3 separate regions of the Homo sapiens genome follow, and regions 1 and 3 are each linked to region 2. Evidence: promoter capture Hi-C in 16 types of primary human blood cells and fetal thymus (Javierre and others, 2016). All regions are on one chromosome and are shown on one strand. Each heading gives the region's core, a stretch centred on a gene start or on the middle of the fragment in contact. The rest is flanking DNA. Distances are from core to core; before and after follow the strand shown. Region 1 overlaps CGRRF1 (cell growth regulator with ring finger domain 1). Region 2 holds the start of WDHD1 (WD repeat and HMG-box DNA binding protein 1). Region 3 overlaps TBPL2 (TATA-box binding protein like 2).

Region 1 (2,802 bases), core at 7-2,506, 500 kb after region 2:
AAAATAAAACTTTTTCTATTTATCAAATAATGAAGAACCACCATTCAAATCACTTAAAGGTAATGCTTTCAAAATTTTCAATTACTTACAATATCATAAATTTCCCGGTCATCCTCATCAGCTAAGGTCAATAGCGCTACCAATGGATAGCGAGATCTGGGTACTGTACCAAAGTCTTCAATTTTAGTATCTCTTGGTAACTGGCAATATATTTCTTCTTTGCTATCCTTTTTAATACTTTTTGAAAATGTAAAGGTAAATTGCCACTATAACCATAAGAACAAAAATACACCAAAAATGATCAATAAGTTAGCAACACTTTATCCATAAGAAGTCTAATTTTCAGTGCTAATGGGTATATCAGATAAAAGGATACAAATACTGTTCCTGATAGAGACATTCACTCCACAGAGCATCTTCTAATGCTTGAGGAGTGCTTATTCTGAAGCAATAAACATGCTTCTAGTATACCAAAAATGATCAATAAGTTAGCAACACTTTATCCGTAAGAAGTCTAATTTTCAGTGCTAATGGGTATATCAGATGAAAGGATACAAATACTGTTCCTGATAGAGATATTCACTCCACAGAGCATCTTCTAATGCTTGGGGAGTGCTTATTCTGAAGCAATAAACATGCTTCTAGTATACCAAAAATGATCAATAAGTTAGCAACACTTTATCCATAAGAAGTCTAATTTTCAGTGCTAATGGGTATATCAGATGAAAGGATACAAATACTGTTCCTGATAGAGATATTCACTCCACAGAGCATCTTCTAATGCTTGAGGAGTGCTTATTCTGAAGCAATAAACATGCTTCTAGTATACCAAGAATGATCAATAAGTTAGCAACACTTTATCCATAAGAAGTCTAATTTTCAGTGCTAATGGGTATATCAGACGAAAGGATACAAATACTGTTCCTGATAGAGATATTCACTATACAGAGCATCTTCTAATGCTTGGGGAGTGCTTATTCTGAAGCAATAAACATGCTTCTGCAGAGCTTCATATAATTTTTGAACACTGCACCCCCAGTAGCATGTAAGGAGGCTATCTTCAAGGCAATCTGTTGTCAAGGTTATGCCAGCTGTAAAAAACAAAGGAGAAAGAATGAAAGTGATTTAATGTAACTTCTAATACAATCATACAGGGTGAGTAACAAAAGCTTCCTTTTGGATGCTGGCCAGGATGATGGCAGTTAAAAGAACTTGTTAAAGGGTATGCCTCCTATAAACGAAGGAACTGGCCTCTGTAACAAGAGATATAAAAGCTCAATGTCTACACATTTTTTGAGAGCTATCAAAAAACTATTTCTTACTATTTATCTATTAAAGCTTAGAAACTGTTAATTTTCTTTTTTGGCGACTCTAAGACATTTCCCATCTAGATTTTTAAAACTAAAATACAGTTCACTATTGATAACCTACCACTCTCATAGTGTATATGATCCTAACGACAAGAAACAGTGCAGCAGAATACAGCTGTCCTCTAAAGGGGATATGTACAACCTATAGGCTCCACAACATGATCGCTGTTGTAAGAAAAATATTAAAAAGAAACTGAGCTTTACTAACATTAATGTATACATTGACAACATTAACATACAGGCTTGTCACAGACTTAATGTCCCATGTAATATGCAAAATATCCTGAGGAAAAGAGTGGGGATTCCAAAACATAAAGAGTTTAATAGTGGTATCTTAATTCAGTTGTTCACTTTCAACTTAAGAAGATATAACAATTTGAGTAGACCTGATTAAATGGATATACAAATTGTAAGTAGATGTGAAATTATACAGTTTTATTTAACACTTGTATAGGACTTACTTTGTGTCACCTATGTGATTTCCCCCTCCTAGTGGTATTTGTAGCAATATCACATTCAAGGGTAGCAACATCCAGCCTTTCATACTGCTGGGGGTGCAAACTGTAGCAGCGCAAACTGTAACGTGTAGTACTCCTTGGCACTGATACACTGACTAGATAAAAAGGGCCTGGTTTTGGTCATTGTTCCTGGCTCAACAGCCTTGGCATCTGATTTTGGCTCTCCAAACCTGCCAGCAATTCTGTAAGCTACCCAATATCCTTTTATTGAAGTTGTTTCTGTTGCTTGCTAATAAGAATTCTGATTGATATATTACCTATTTTTTAAAATGTGATCAAGAGTATATGTTAGAAGAAGATACACAAATACAAGCAGATGCTCCACAGGATACCAAAAACTGATTTTTCCAATTTTACTCTCAGTATTTAGTAGTATGTACACACAGTCTGAGAGTCTGAGTAGCATTGATACATGGCCATTTCTAATCATACTTAAGGAAAAATTTTAATTGGTAGGAACTTTGCATAGGTTAATTGGAGCAGGCTTTGATTTCAAATTTTTATGATTCCAATCATCAGGTATTAACTCAAGAATGAAAAATTCCATTTGATATTAAATAGCTGAAGGAAAACATTTTATTTATACATACACAAATACATATACACACATATACACACACATACAAAATCACACATATTTTTCCCTTTGTCACTGTAGAACCACATAACATGAGGCAGAAGAAAAAAGCTGGAGGTAGATACGAAAGGAAAAAATAGAAAATGCATATTTTAAAACATTGAAAAAGAAAAAACAAGAAACACAAAATGATTATTTATTATTGTATTACTAGCAAAAATGTGAAAAGATATATGTATAAGGCTACTCATTATAGCACTAGTTATCATAGCAAAATGCTGGAATAAACCCAAATGTTCATCAATGCGGATTAAATGAATAAATATAGTACTCTACA
Region 2 (2,700 bases), core at 55-2,554:
AAAGCATCATCTCTGGTACCACTGCTCTTTCGGGAGATCAACAGTGGGTTATTTTTCCACAAATCCCAAGTTGTTTTTAAGCCAATCATTCTTCCTCTTCATTCATATACAAACCTCAGCGTCTAGCAAGGCTATCTGGAGCTCTAGTACTAAAAACAACGCCTCACACAATGCCACCCACGGTAAGAACACGACGGTTTGCCTGTGTGTTTGCAACTTTTCACAATGGAACTAGATTGAAAAAAACAATAGGGAAACCTCTTCAACAGAAAAACGTCTCAGGTAATAAAATAAATGTGATTGATACTGGAAGGTATCACAAAAACGCAGAAAAATTCTCAAAGATAAGTACAAATGAAAGAATATCATTCTGAAGGTTTTCATCACAGGCTGCTGTACCAATATGGAGAATGAAGATACAAGAAAAGCATAAACTTAAACTTAGTGGCCAAGACTTTAGCAGATATTGCATGGATCAAATGTAAGTGCTCAAGGCTACTAAGTTATAACTCTTCTTTTGGTTATAAATATTCACTTCAGTAAACTTTAGGTGGGATCTGAATAGAGAACACAAGTTACTTTCTTCATAACGGATATATAGAGTCGCAAAGAATAAGCATTAATTGAGCATTAATTAATTATACCTTCAGGTACCAAGAGAACCAACCGGAACAGAAATTAAGTCATTCCTTCTTTATCTCTACAGAAGCGACAAGGTGAGGGCACGAAGGATGCCAAGATTAGAGGCTCTAGAAGATCTCGCCTTCTTTTCCAGAGAAGATGCTCAAAGATCTGTCTGCTAACTGGGCCCCAAGAAAGAGACCGGATCCTTTTAGGGATCCGGATATTGTTTCCTGGGAGGAGAGCCTGGAGGGCAGGAACAAGACCCCGGCCTGCGAGGCCAGGCAGCGGCCACCCTTCCCCCACTCACCTCCCGGAGCGCAGCTTAACTGGGGTTGTGCGAGTAACTGCTGCCATCACCATCGCCATCAGTCTGGGCGCTTGCTTAAGTGGAGAGGGGAGGCCCAACCACTCCTGCACCTCGTGTAGGTCTTACAAAGCAGATGCTTTTCTGCCACCCCCAACCCCGCTTCGGCGTTCCGGTCCCAACCCAGCCGTCACGGTCATCGCCTCCGCCGGTTCCCTGGGCGCCGCCACCACTTCCGTGTTCAGCTCCCTCCCTTCCTCCCTGATTTGCCCGGGCAACCGGCTAATTTCCACGCGGAGGGCGCCGCAGCTGACGCCACCACCCGGCGACCTCTGTCGGGACCTGCGCTGGGCGTGGGCGGGTCGGCGCAGGCGCAGTGTGGTGAGCGAGCCGAAGCGCGGGAAGCAGCTCTTGTGGATCCTCAGTGGCGGAGGCTCGGTCACCCGGGTGAGTCCCCACTCCGGCTGCCCGCGTCCACCAAGGAGATGCGTGTTCCCTTTCCGGCTTATTGTCTGACAGACCCTCTGCCTTATCCCGCTGGTGTCACTCGGGTGGGGGAAACCGGGCTGCGGAGAACGGGCCCTAGAGGAGACTAAGCTCTCTTCCTATCCCTAGCCTCGCTGCTTTTCTCTTTTGAAATAATAAGACTGGCTTTTATAAAACATTTTCAGATAGGTAAAGGAAAACATGCCTGCCACACGGAAGCCAATGAGATATGGGCATACAGAGGGACACACGGAGGTCTGTTTTGATGATTCTGGGAGGTAAGGTTCTTTGAGAAACAACGTTTTAGGTGCAAATGTTAAAACATTTATCCTTAAACTTTATATGTGCAGTCAGCTAAAAATGACTCATGCGGATAGAGGAATAATGTTGAAATCTAAAATGGCACACATATTTCTTTAGATTATTGTTTGATTCGGGCCGTCATGGTAGTTGTAGTATATCGACAAAGTTATAATCGTACTTCCAGAGGAGTTGGAAAGATGCGAGCTTCTCTCCATATATTTTCCCCTTCCCTGCATCTTACATTATTAATTTTGTCAGATCACTAGTTACTGCCTACTTGTCAAATTCAGTGGCCTGTTCTGTTTGGAATGATATCCTTCCATGCCTTTAGTGATGCTATTTCCCTTTTTGCTTATTTTTTTTTAACTTTTTGACGGCTTAAAACAATTTTTTCCTCTGATTCCTAAACTATAATATTTTCCTACGGTTATTCTGGTCCCTTTTATCTTTCCAAGTCCCATTCTTACGCACTACTGCTCGATTGCACGGCTTCCACTGTCGCTTCTATGTTGATTGATTCATTGAAAAAATACTTGTGTGTCTCTTTTGCTGGGGACTACAGATAGAATAGAGCGAACCAGACACAGTCTTTTCCTCCTTTGAGCTTAAGGTCTTTTTGGATTGACAGGCATTGAACACAAATTAATCACAAAAATAAATGTGTATTTAGAAACAAGTAATATGTGCAGTGATAAACATGTATGAGGAGAAGCTCATCTAGTTAAAGGAGTCAGGGAAGGCTTCTTTGGACAAGTGTTTCTTGAGACGCCATCTGAAGACGGAGCAGGCATTAAGCAGTATAAAGAGATGAGTGGTGGTGGCGGTGGGGTGGTGATGTTGGCATAGTAAGCAGAGGCAATACTGTGTGTAAAGGCCCAATGGGGCCAGGGATCATGGTATGCTCAAAGAACTGAAGGAAAACTAGCCTTACTAAAATGTGGAGAGTGATGCAGAGTTTAGTGAGAGATGAATCTGTGAAGTTA
Region 3 (2,743 bases), core at 96-2,595, 410 kb before region 2:
AACTACAGTAAGTTTTTATTTTTGTTTTAATTGAGCACATTGGGTACACATTTTATATTCCTGAATGCGATGACAACTAATTTCAGGATAATAGTAGGGAAGAGAATTTCAGATTTCATAATTCTTTGTTTTATCAGTTCTAAATGGATTGTGGCTTTAGACAGTTTGATTATCTGTAAGGCAAAGCACTAATTCTTGACCTCTAAGGTGGGCGGAGGGGACTTAAAGATTAATAGATGCATTCTTGAAGGATTGTATTGTTTATACTACAGCACTGTAGTTGCTGAAAATTGTGGGTAGGGTTGGATAAACACCAAGGATATAAAGATGTAAAATTGAGTTTGATTTGCAAATTGATTCAGAATTGTAATTTCTATTTTGAGGCATTGTTTTGAAAAAAGATCTAAAACTTAATTTTAGCAGCTAGTCATGAAATTTTAGGAAAGGCTCTTTAGCACTTCACTTTGGGATTTTACACTTAACTAGGAATCATGTCATGTATTTCACATTTGGAATAATTCTCCCCCTAGGAAATTGCTAAGGTATAACCTAAGAAATGAGAAAATAAGTTGTCTTTTTTTTTTTTTACTCTTTATATCTGATATAAGTTTCTAAACTGACTTATTTCTTCAGGAATATAGTTTCCACTGTAAACCTGGCCTGTAAGTTGGATCTGAAGAAAATAGCTTTGCATGCAAAAAATGCAGAATATAACCCAAAGGTAACATTTCTCAGTATTCCTTCCAATAATTAGCTTCTCTTTAGATTTACTTTTCTTAATATGATCATGATATTGACTAATTCCTCTGTTTTTTCTTAAAAAATTGTTACTGAAAAAGCTTTTGGCAACTCAGGGTTAATATCTGTTTTGAGTTATAAAAAATAATCTCATTCTTTATGCTGAATAAAGCAGTAATTGAGCAGTTCCTTAAAGATAAGCTCTCTCCCTTGTCATTCAAAAATATTTTTTAGTATGATTATAATTTTTCACTTAGGCTGGGCACGGTGGCTCACTCCTGTAATCCCAGCACTTTGGGAGGCTGAGGCAGGTGGATCACGAGGTCAGGAGTTTGAGACCAGCCTGACCAACATGGTGAAATCCCGTCTCTACTAAAAATACAAAAATTAGCTGGATGTTGTGGCGGGTGCCTGTAATCCCAGCTACTCAGGAGGTTGAGGCAGGAGAATCACTTGAACCCAGGAGGCAGAGGTTGCAGTGAGCCAAGATCATGCCATTACATTCCAGCCTGGGTAACAGCGAGACTCCGTCTCCAAAAAAAAAAAAAAAATTTCACCTGACTATTGGGATGCTAACTATCTTAAAATGCCATCAAATTTCTGGAAATAATTTTTGCCAAATGTTGTCTCAGCTACCTGACACTTATGTATCTTTCCATTACAATTCCTCTTATCTGAGAAGGCTAAACTGCTTAAAGTATAAAGTTCAAGCTCCTATTTACTAATGTAAGATTCAGGGATTTTTTTTTTCGTCCTCCTCAAAGTTTAATAAAATCTATTCTTTCTTGTATCCTGCCAAGGCCAGGCATCCTGTTTTCAATGGCTTGTTTACCTAGGGTAATTGGGTTTGTCAATCCTATCAACTTTTAACGATTTGCCAGGCTCTGTACTTAGGAGTACAAAGATGAGTAAGACCTGCTTCCTACTGGGAAAAAGTTCACTGGCTTAGGTGGTGGAGGATTTATGGAATTAGATGAAAAAAGGTCACATTCGTAGGAACCCAGAGACCTTGCAGGCATCAACTATTATTTGTTTTTGCTGTTGCCCTAGTATTGTTGCTGACATCTGAATTTAAATGTTACCTCGATGTTACCCGAATACAATAAAGCTTTCCTTTTGATATTTCATACAGCTGACAATGGTGAGGACAGACACAAAGATGAGCTAAGATCCTCACAGCTGCAGCTGTGATCACATTATTGAACAATCAGCATTTTAGGCAACTTTTATTGTCCACCATCCTCAGCACACCTCTCATTTTGGACGAGGGGTAGGGGTGGGCAGGGCTGGGGATGAGTGTATAGGATCTCTCTGAACTTGTGCTTGACACCCAGAGAAATTCTGGCTTGGCCCTTAAGCTAGCACCCACCCCAGTTTCCTTCCTAGCTTAACCGGGGAGAGGAGTTGGGGTGAAGAGACTATCTGTGTAGGAGCAGGCCATTTGATGACACGTCCATGTGGCAGGCCAGAGGTTCCCTACCCTCACGAGTGTCAGCCTCACCTGCAGGGCTTGCTGATGCTGCTGGTCTTGAATGACACTTTGAGAACTATAAGAGGCAAGAACCTTGACATCAACTTTCTGTCATTCATCTTTAGCATGCCTATCATACAGACTCTTCTGCATTTTGGTCATTTTTCAGTACATTCTGAAGTCTTGGTGAGCCTTTAACATACTTATTTTTTTCCCAAAAGATTCTTCAAAAGAAAAAGGAAGTGTGTCAAAGTAAAAAGCAGAGAATCTGATTAGTGTGGGTTTTGAATCTTAACTTTACCACTTCCTGTGTAATATTGGAGGTTATATTGCTACTTGTTTTCCCTGAGCACTAAATGAGGATAATAAACACAAGTTCATCCTATCATGAGAATAAATAGGAACTGAAACATAACAGGCATTCAAATTTAAGAGTTACTGATATTATTTTTACCTGTTAATAAGTACATTTTAGAATCATCATTATTTTTGTTAACCTTAATGTAGGGAGAAAAGACCCAGACATTTAGTTTT

Evidence for each region. The method cuts DNA at HindIII sites, captures the fragments that hold promoters and counts their contacts. A CHiCAGO score of 5 or more calls a contact.
Region 1: a contact is called between a fragment that was not itself captured here and the fragment with the promoter of WDHD1 in region 2, in 2 of 17 cell types (M1 macrophages and total B cells). The highest score is 7.1, in M1 macrophages.
Region 3: a contact is called between a fragment that was not itself captured here and the fragment with the promoter of WDHD1 in region 2, in 1 of 17 cell types (activated CD4 T cells). The highest score is 5.1, in activated CD4 T cells.

The regions. Positions count from the first base shown.
Region 1 is chr14:54,528,338-54,531,139 of GRCh38, reverse strand. CGRRF1 (cell growth regulator with ring finger domain 1) reads right to left here. Exons shown (of 6, transcript NM_006568.3): 3 at 914-1,091; 4 at 90-237. Among named protein-coding and RNA genes, the nearest start is that of CGRRF1, 20 kb to the right of the region's middle. The HindIII fragment of the contact is 169 bases long and covers 1,172-1,340 here.
Region 2 is chr14:55,025,703-55,028,402 of GRCh38, reverse strand. WDHD1 (WD repeat and HMG-box DNA binding protein 1) reads left to right here and starts at 1,304. Exons shown (of 26, transcript NM_007086.4): 1 at 1,304-1,375; 2 at 1,600-1,692. The coding sequence starts at 1,616. It overlaps SOCS4 (suppressor of cytokine signaling 4), which reads right to left and starts at 1,167. Exons shown (of 3, transcript NM_199421.2): 1 at 932-1,167. RefSeq lists enhancers at 428-954, 955-1,482 and a silencer at 1,277-1,326. The HindIII fragment of the contact is 4,247 bases long and covers 1-2,700 here.
Region 3 is chr14:55,433,825-55,436,567 of GRCh38, reverse strand. TBPL2 (TATA-box binding protein like 2) reads left to right here. Exons shown (of 7, transcript NM_199047.3): 2 at 1-7; 3 at 634-721. It also overlaps a transcript of FBXO34 not described here. Among named protein-coding and RNA genes, the nearest start is that of TBPL2, 5.4 kb to the left of the region's middle. The HindIII fragment of the contact is 1,007 bases long and covers 842-1,848 here.